Linked DNA regions of Homo sapiens: region 2 is linked to region 1. Evidence: promoter capture Hi-C in 16 types of primary human blood cells and fetal thymus (Javierre and others, 2016). All regions are on one chromosome and are shown on one strand. Each heading gives the region's core, a stretch centred on a gene start or on the middle of the fragment in contact. The rest is flanking DNA. Distances are from core to core; before and after follow the strand shown.

Region 1 (5,584 bases), core at 1,967-4,466:
AATAGGAATTTCCCGGGGAAAGGGTGGGATTGGACTTGGGGTGGCAAGTAAGGCTTGAGAGAGGAGAACTGAGACCTTCAGTGAAGGGTCCCAGTGCCCCTTCCCCATCAACTGCCCCCATTACCCATTCTGCTCATGCTTTTTCATTCATTCCTCAATCTGTTGGTGCATGTCTGATGAGTGCAGTCTGTGCCTCGCTCACCTTGGTTTCCTTCCTGTGTGGCTCTTCTGCCACAATTCTGTCCCTCTTCCTTCTATATGTGCTTCCTCACCCCCTCAGAATGCCATCTCCTGAGTGTAATGCATCGCTGCCTCTGGACACTGCCATATAACCTATCCATCCCACTATCTACCCATTCATCCCTGCAACCATGCAGCCATCCAACTATCTATCCAGCCAACCAGCCAATCAGCCAACTCTTCAACCATCCATCCTTCCATCCATCCATCCATCCATCCATCCAATCAGCCAACTCTTCAACCATCCATCCTTCCATCCATCCATCCATCCATCCATCCACCCATCCACCCATTCTTCCATCCATTCTTCCATCCATCCATCCATCCATCCACTCTTCCATCCATCCAACCATCCATCCATTCAACATCCATTCATCCATCTACCTATCCATCCACCCATCCACTCATACATCCAATTATCTACTCATTCATCCATTCACCTATCCATCCATCTACCTGTCCAACCATTCATCCATCCACCTATCCATCCATCTACCTATCCAACCATTCACCCATCTGTCTATCCACTCATTCATCCATCCATCCATCCTTCTACACATCCACCCATCCATTCAACCATCCACTCACCCATCCATCCATCCATCCATCCAACCATCTATCCATTTATCTACCCATTTATCCAAATATATGGGCACTGACTCTGTGCCCAACCCAACACAGCAGAGGATAGCCTGGTGATTGGGATCTCTTCTTTGAATTCAGAAACATCTGAATTTGACTCCCAGCTCTACCTCATACCAGATTGGTATGGCCTTGGTAAAGTCAGTGCACCTCTCTAAACCTCAGTTTCCCTTTCTATAAAATGAGGACTCAGAGTTGCTGTGAGTATAGAAGAGTGAAAAGTACATGATGGGCTTAGCACTAAGCCAGACATATAGAAAGTGATTGATACAAGATTTTACCTTTTGGAGCTTGGGGATGTAAAAGTGGATCAGATATAGTCACTGCCCTCACAGACCTCATGCTCTAGAGCATGGATCAGCAAACCTTTTCTATAAAGAGCTAGGCAGAGCAATCCAAAGTCCTATGGCTAAAATTGTCTGCAGAGGATCTGAGACAGAGCCCTCAGTTGCCAGGCAGGAAGAGTGGTAGGAACAGCACAGAGATACCAGGAGAATGGTGAGTTGGGTGTGCATGTGTGTGACAGGGAGGTAAGAGGACAGGCTGAGGAGGGCTCTGAATGTCATTCTAAGGGGACTGGAGTCTATAGGGGTGGGGATCAGTAGAAGGGGAGTGACCATCAGAGGGTTATATCAAAAGGACACACCAACTCCAGGACAGAAGATGGACTACAGGGGAGAGACTGGTAGCTGAGGATCAGTGACAAATGTGATTGGCAATCGTTTGGGGCAATTGTGGTTGGTAATTGACAGAGCTCAGTCTATGACACTGGGATTAGGGCTTAGCTCATAATATTGGAATCAGGACACAGCCTATGACATCAGGATTGGAGCTCAGTCTATGATGCCAGATCAAGATTCAGTCTATGACACCAGGATTGGGGCTCAGTCTATGATACCAGGATAAGAGCTAAGACTATGACACCAGGATTAGGGCTTAGCCTATGACACTAGGATCAGGGATCAATATATGACACCAGGATAAAGGCTTAGTCTATGACACTAGGAGGGGGGTTCATTCTATGATACAAGAATGAATGCTCAACCAATGACAGCCAGATGAAGTTCAGTCTGTGATATCAGGATCAAGGCTCAGTATATGACACCAGGATCATGGCTCAGTCTGTGACACAAAGATTGGAGTTCAATCTGTAAAACTAGGATCAGAGTTGAGTCAGTCATTGGGAACTAGGATCACAGTTGAGTTCATCATCAGGTCAAGCTCAACCTGTTCCTCGGTCAGAAGCTTCCCTATAAAAACAAAACTCAGCCAGGCACAGTGGCTCATGCCTGTAATCCCAGCACTTTGGGAGGCCGAGGTGGGAGGATCATATGAGACCAGGAGTTCGAGACTAGCCTAGCCAACATGGTGAAACCCCATTTCAACTAAAAATGCAAAAATTAGCTGGACATGGTGGTACACATCGGTGGTCCCAGCTACTCAGAAGTCTGAGACAGGAGAATCGCTTGTACCCAGGAGGTGGAGACTGCAGTGAGCCAAGATGGAACCACTCCAGCCTGGGTGACAGAGCAAGACTCTCTTGAAACAAAACAACAACAACAACAACAACAACAAAACATGCACAATCACACAACCCTGGCATTTCTTTTCTTTTCTTTTTTCATTCTTTTCCTTTTTTTTTTTCTTTGAGACAGAGTCTCACTCTGTCACCCAGGCTGGAGTGCAATGGCACAATCTCAGTTCACTGCATCCTGCCCTTCCCTGGCTGAAGAGATTCCCATGTGTCAGCCTCCCTAGTAGCTGGAATTATAAGCACATGCCACCATGCCCAGCTAATGTTTGTATTTTCAGTAGAGACTAGGTTTCGCCATGTTGGTCAGGCTGGTCTCAAACTCCTCACCTCAAGTGATCCGCCTTCCTCGGCCTCCCAAAGTGCTGGGATTACATGTGTGAGCCACTGGGCCCGGCCAACCCTGGCCTTTCACCTTTGATCTTTGGATCCCAGACCTTCAGGGTTCACAGATACAGGGCATGAGGTCCTGCAGGCTACAGGAGGCCTCAGGCCTCCACAAGGACCCTGTCCAGTGAAGCAAGCCAACCCTGCAGGCTCTCCTCCAGCCCTAAGGGGACTTGGCTGAGGAATGGGACTGCCTTTCCCCTCCCAAGCTCCCACCAACCTCCAGGACCCTCCCCCACATCTGGCTTTCCTCCTCCTTCACAGCCTGCTTGTTTCGTTTCTGTGAGTCATAGATGCTGCTTCGGCTTCTGGGTGGGGAAGAGAACAGATGCAAAGCTTAACAACAGCAGCTGAACAGAGTCCCTCCAACCAGCCCGGGAGGGCAACCTGGAAAGCAGTGATGGTGGAAACCCTGGCATTGCTCGTTACTGTCCAGCCACTCATCTGTGAATACAGGTGGCATCAGGGGGCAAATTTACCTTGAAGCAATGGAAACTGAAGCTTCAGGCCCCATGTGTACCTGCCCCATCCAAAGCTCTGCAAGAGGCTCCAACAAAAAACTTTTTAGGAACAGCTTTATTGAGCTACCATATACTTCACCCATTTAAAGCATACAATTCAGTGGTTTTAGGCCAGGTGCAATGGCTCATGCCTGTAATCCCAGCACTTTGGGAGGCCAAGGCGGGGGGATTGCCTGAGCTCAGGAGTTCCGGACCAGCCTGGCCAACGTAGCAAGACCCCCGTCTCTACTAAAAATAAAAAAAATTAGCCAGGTGTGGTGGTGCATACGTGTAATCCCAGCTACTCAACAGGCTGAGGCAGGAGAATCACTCAAATCCCGGAGGTGGAGGTTGCAGTGAGCCAAGATGGCGCCACTGCACTCCAGCCTGGGCAACAGAGTGAGGCTCTATCTCAAAAAAGAGACTGCATAACAGCGGTTCCTCAAAAAGCTAAGCATAGATTAGCATGTACTCCAGCAATTCCCTTCCTAGGTAACGACCCAAGACAATGGAAAACACACATCCGTGCAATTGCGTACATCTGTATGCAATTGTTCATGGCAGCGTGATTTGAAATAACCAAATGGTGAAAACGACCCAAATGTCCATCAACAGATCAATGGATACACGAAATGTGGTATCTCCATGCAATTGAATATTATTCAGCCCTAAAACAAATAAAGCACTGGCCGGGCACCGTGGCTCACACCTGTAATCCCTACACTTTGGGAGGCTGAGGCATGCAGATCACCTGAGGTCAGGAGTTCTAGACTAGCCTGGCCAACATGGTGAAACCCCAACTCTATTAATCACACAAAATTAGCCAGGTGCAGTGGTGTGCACCTGTAATCCCAGCTACTCAGGAGGCTGAGGCAGGAGAATGGCTTGAACTCGGGAGGCGGAGGTTGTGGTGAGCTGAGATCACGCCACTGCACTCCAGCTTGGGGGCAACAGAGCAAGACTCTGTGGAAGAAGAAGAAGAAGAAGAAGAAGGAGAAGGAGAAGGAGAAGGAGAAGGAGAAGGAGAAGGAGAAGGAGAAGGAGAAGGAGAAGGAGAAGGAGAAGGAGAAGGAGAAGGAGAAGGAGAAGGAGAAGGAGAAGGAGAAGGAGAAGGAGAAGGAGAAGGAGAAGGAGGAGAAGAAGGAGAAGAAGGAGAAGAAGGAGAAGAAGGAGAAGAAGAAGGAGAAAAGAAGAGGAAGAAGAGGAAGAAGAAGACAAGAAGAGGAAGAGGAAGAAGAAAGGAAGAAGGAAGGAGAAGAAGAGGAGGAGGAAGAAGGAGAAGGAGGAAGAAGAAGGAAGAAGGTGGAGGAGGAGGAGGAAGAGGAGGAGGAGGAAAAACAATGTGGGCATTGGGTACTTGCATTTGGTCTACGGGACCATTAGCATCATTGATCAACTGAGGGCTTTTTCCTAGAGCAGGCATAACAAATTGATTTCATACATAAGCCAACTTGGATCACCTGGTGATGGCTGTTGGAACTGGTGTGTTGGGAAGAATCCTGAGGGGGCAAATGGCTAAGCAGGAAATTGACTCATGATTGACTAGCAATGTCTGCCATAGGCTTGGGATGGGGAAGAGGTGACACGTATGTTGGCTTCAAGATCATTGAGACCATCTTCCCCCTCCCCTCACCAACTCATTTTATAGTTGAGAAAACTGAGGTCCAGGGTGACCAGCAACAGATGCAGAATCCAGGTCCTGGCTTCCTCAGCACTCCCAGCTTATCCCTGACACCTTGTCCCTCCTTTCTCCACAGGCTCTGAGCCCAAGTCATGTGTCCAGCCTTTTGACTCTGGAGCTGTGGCTTCAGCCACCAAGAGCAGCAGTGGATCCTGGAAACCTGAGAACCCAGACTTCTTCTCTGCCATGGGGGATGATCAGGCAGGTGTCTGACTGCTGAAACGGGCAGGAGCTGATGACGACAGTGGCAGCAAGTACACTTTGTTTAGCACCTGCATTTTACCAGGCACTTTGTGTACATTATCTCAGGGAATCCTCATCGAAACTTGCAAAGTCATTTATTATCCTGTTTTACCTATGAGGAAACCAGAATCTGTTCTGAAATAAGAAGAGGGAGGAAAGGAGCAATGGAGGGATGAATGGATGGATGGATAGATGGATGGGTGGGTGGGTGTCTGGATAGATGGATGGATAGATGGAAGGAAAGAGGAAATCAAGGAAAGATGAGTAGAAGGATGGATGGATGGATGGATACGTGGATGAATAGAAGGGTGGCTGGGTGGATGAATGGATGACGGATGACTAGAAGGAAGGGAGGAAAGA
Region 2 (2,700 bases), core at 1-2,500, 370 kb after region 1:
CTGGGAGCCGCAGGGTGAGAGGGGCGAGGGCGGCGAGGATGGGGCGGGACTTCGGAGACCAGCCCCCGCCCCGCACCACCCGCCGCAGGCCTCCGCCCCGGCCCCCCTCCCATCGCGGCCGCAAGACCCCATCCCTGCGCCCACAGCCTCGACCGCGCCCCCTCACAGCAGCTGTGGCAGTCTCCGACCTCCTCCTTCAGGGCACCCAGCGCCGCCGTCTGCTTCGAGGCTGGAACGACCCCCGCCCCAAAATGCATGCCCCTCGGGTCACTTGGGAGGACTCAGGGGACCCCCTTCCAGCCTCAGGGACCATAGGGCCCCCACGCACTCGAGACTCCATCTCCGGGGTCTCAGAAACTCCCGCCCCTCACGCCCCGGGGGCCCAGGCGCCCGGCTCTGCACACACCGTTTGTCCTCAGCAGGTCGTGGCCGTCAAGCAGCGCCGCGCGCTCCGTGGAGGCTGAGGAGAGAGGCTCCTGCAGGCGAGGCCGGGAACTCGGGAATCCTCCCCTCGCCCGGGGGGTGCAGCGTCCCCCAACTCGGGAGCACGGAGCGGGCGGGCAGGCATACAGCTCACACGATGTGCACACACGCCGATGGGAGACAAACGCGCGGGGACTCGCGCACATACGAGCACGCCATGTGCACACGCGTGAGTGCACACGGCCCAAAGATGTACACACACTCTGCTCACACTCAGACGCGAACAGGACCCCAGGATGCAGCTGGTGCGCCATGCAGTGGGGGTTTTCTGTCCCCAGGGGGGCCGGATGCAACACCTCCCCATTGAGAGTCACTCACCCTTGGACAATAGGATACTCAGAATCACAGCCCAAAGGACTGTGGTGACCAGGACAGCCAGGGCCAAGAAGAGGGGTCTCCTGCTCCAGTGCACCCAGCGTCCCCAGGGCCCTGGCATAACAAGGACGGCATGCTGGGTCCCCCAGAACTGAGCCCTGGAGGCCTGAGTTACTCCCAGGAAACTGAGATTCAGAGAAGTTAAGTAACTTGCCTATGGTCACACAGCTTCTAAGCGGCAGAGTTGGAATTGGACCCTGGTCCAACTGGCTCTATGGCCTGTGGTGTCTCTCCTGCACCCACAACCCTGGCCTGTCTCGACTCTTCCCTCCCCTCCCCCATCAAACCCCAGACACTGGGGCAGGGATGGGGCAGTCTCCTTGCTCATACCTCCGGGGACCTCCTCGGAGCTGCCGCCCCACTTGCTGTACCTGGTGGTGTCCATGGCGATGCAGGCACCCAGTCCTGGGCAGAGATATAAATTTCACGCCTGTTCTCACTGGACCTACGCACTCCCTTCCTTCCTTCCCATTTTCTTGGCCTTAATTCCTGGCAACGGGAACCCATGGACCAATCACAGGATTGGGCCCTTTCAAGGCTGGGCTGGGCTGGGCTGGAGTGAGGCCGGGCGGTTCCAGCCTCCTGGTTCTGGCCACTGCAGCTCCATCCCCAGGCTGGTGCTGGAGGCTTCTCTTTGGAGCTTAGTCACCATCTCTTATGGGCCTGGGGCTGGAGGCTTCTCTTTGGAGCTTAGTCACCATCTCTTATGGGCCTGGGGCTGGGTTTTATCCCGCGAGGGACACACTGAACCCGACCAAATTGTAACCCCTGCTGGCTCCTGAGAAAGCCCCCTCAGGCATAGCCCCCCAGGCCAGTTCAGGTCCCTTCTCAACTCCCCTGCAGGTGCCTGCAGAGGCTGGGTTTGAACCTGACCTTGATCCAGTCCCTCTGTACCAGAAGGGAACAAACAGTTTTGTTAGGGAGGTAGCCGGCGGAGCTGCAGGACTCTACCACTGTATGGGTTCTAGGTAGCTTCTAGAAGCCTTAGTTTTCCCCACTGTAAAGGAGATAGCGATGGGCCTCTCTCACAAAGATGCTATGATAAAGAAACAAGACAGTCTTGCTGGCTCACACCTGTAATCCCAGCACTTTGGGAGGCCGACATGGAAGGATCACTGAGCCCAGGAGTTCCAGACCAGACCAGCCTGGGCAATATAACAAGACCCTCATTTCTGAAAAAAAAAAAAAAATATATATATATATATATATATGAAAACAAAAATTGAAAAAATAAAAAAATAAAGACAATGAGGTTATACATGTCTACCTAGCACCATTTCAGGCATATCAAAAACACTCAGTGTTCATGCATTCTTTCAACAAACATTGAGCACCTGCCATATGCCAGGCATTGATCTTGGAACTGGGGCCACATCAGAGAGTAAAATAAGCAAATTCCTCTCTTCTTGGAGCTAATATTCTAGAAGTGTGGGGAGACAGACTCCATACTCAACGTAATAAACATAATTGAAAACATAAGTTGTATAGCATAGTAGTTCCCAGCTGGGGGCAATTACGCCCACCAGGGGACATTTGGCTATGTCTGGAGACACTTTTGGTTGTCACAGAATGTGTGTGTGTGTGTGTGTGTGTGTGTGTGTGTGCTCCAGGCATCTAGTGGGTAGAGGCCAGGGATGCTGCGCAAAGCCCTACAATGCCTAAGACATCCCCCATAGCAAAGAATGATCTGACTCCTAATGTCCATAGTGCAAAAGGTGGGAACCGTAGTATACTCTATTCAAAAGTCATAAATGCTATGAAAAAACATTAAGGGAAGAAAAAATCCAGTAGGATAAGTACTTGGCAGGACTGGGATGGGCACTAGGCAGTGGGCAGTGGCTA

The links. Contacts are between HindIII fragments. The CHiCAGO score rates a contact against its expected background, and 5 or more counts as called.
Region 2: a contact is called between the fragment with the promoter of CLEC4G here and a fragment that was not itself captured in region 1, in 2 of 17 cell types (erythroblasts and megakaryocytes). The highest score is 7.8, in erythroblasts.

What each region holds. Positions count from the first base shown.
Region 1 is chr19:7,357,724-7,363,307 of GRCh38, forward strand. ARHGEF18 (Rho/Rac guanine nucleotide exchange factor 18) reads left to right here. Exons shown (of 29, transcript NM_001367823.1): 2 at 5,058-5,182. The coding sequence starts at 5,168. Among named protein-coding and RNA genes, the nearest start is that of ARHGEF18, 12 kb to the left of the region's middle. The HindIII fragment of the contact is 165 bases long and covers 3,135-3,299 here.
Region 2 is chr19:7,730,860-7,733,559 of GRCh38, forward strand. CLEC4G (C-type lectin domain family 4 member G) reads right to left here and starts at 1,251. Exons shown (of 9, transcript NM_198492.4): 1 at 1,189-1,251; 2 at 802-912; 3 at 407-460; 4 at 167-229. The coding sequence starts at 1,243. RefSeq lists promoters at 1,246-1,852, 1,246-1,558, 1,246-1,509 and a cis regulatory region at 1,316-1,325. The HindIII fragment of the contact is 11,720 bases long and covers 1-2,700 here.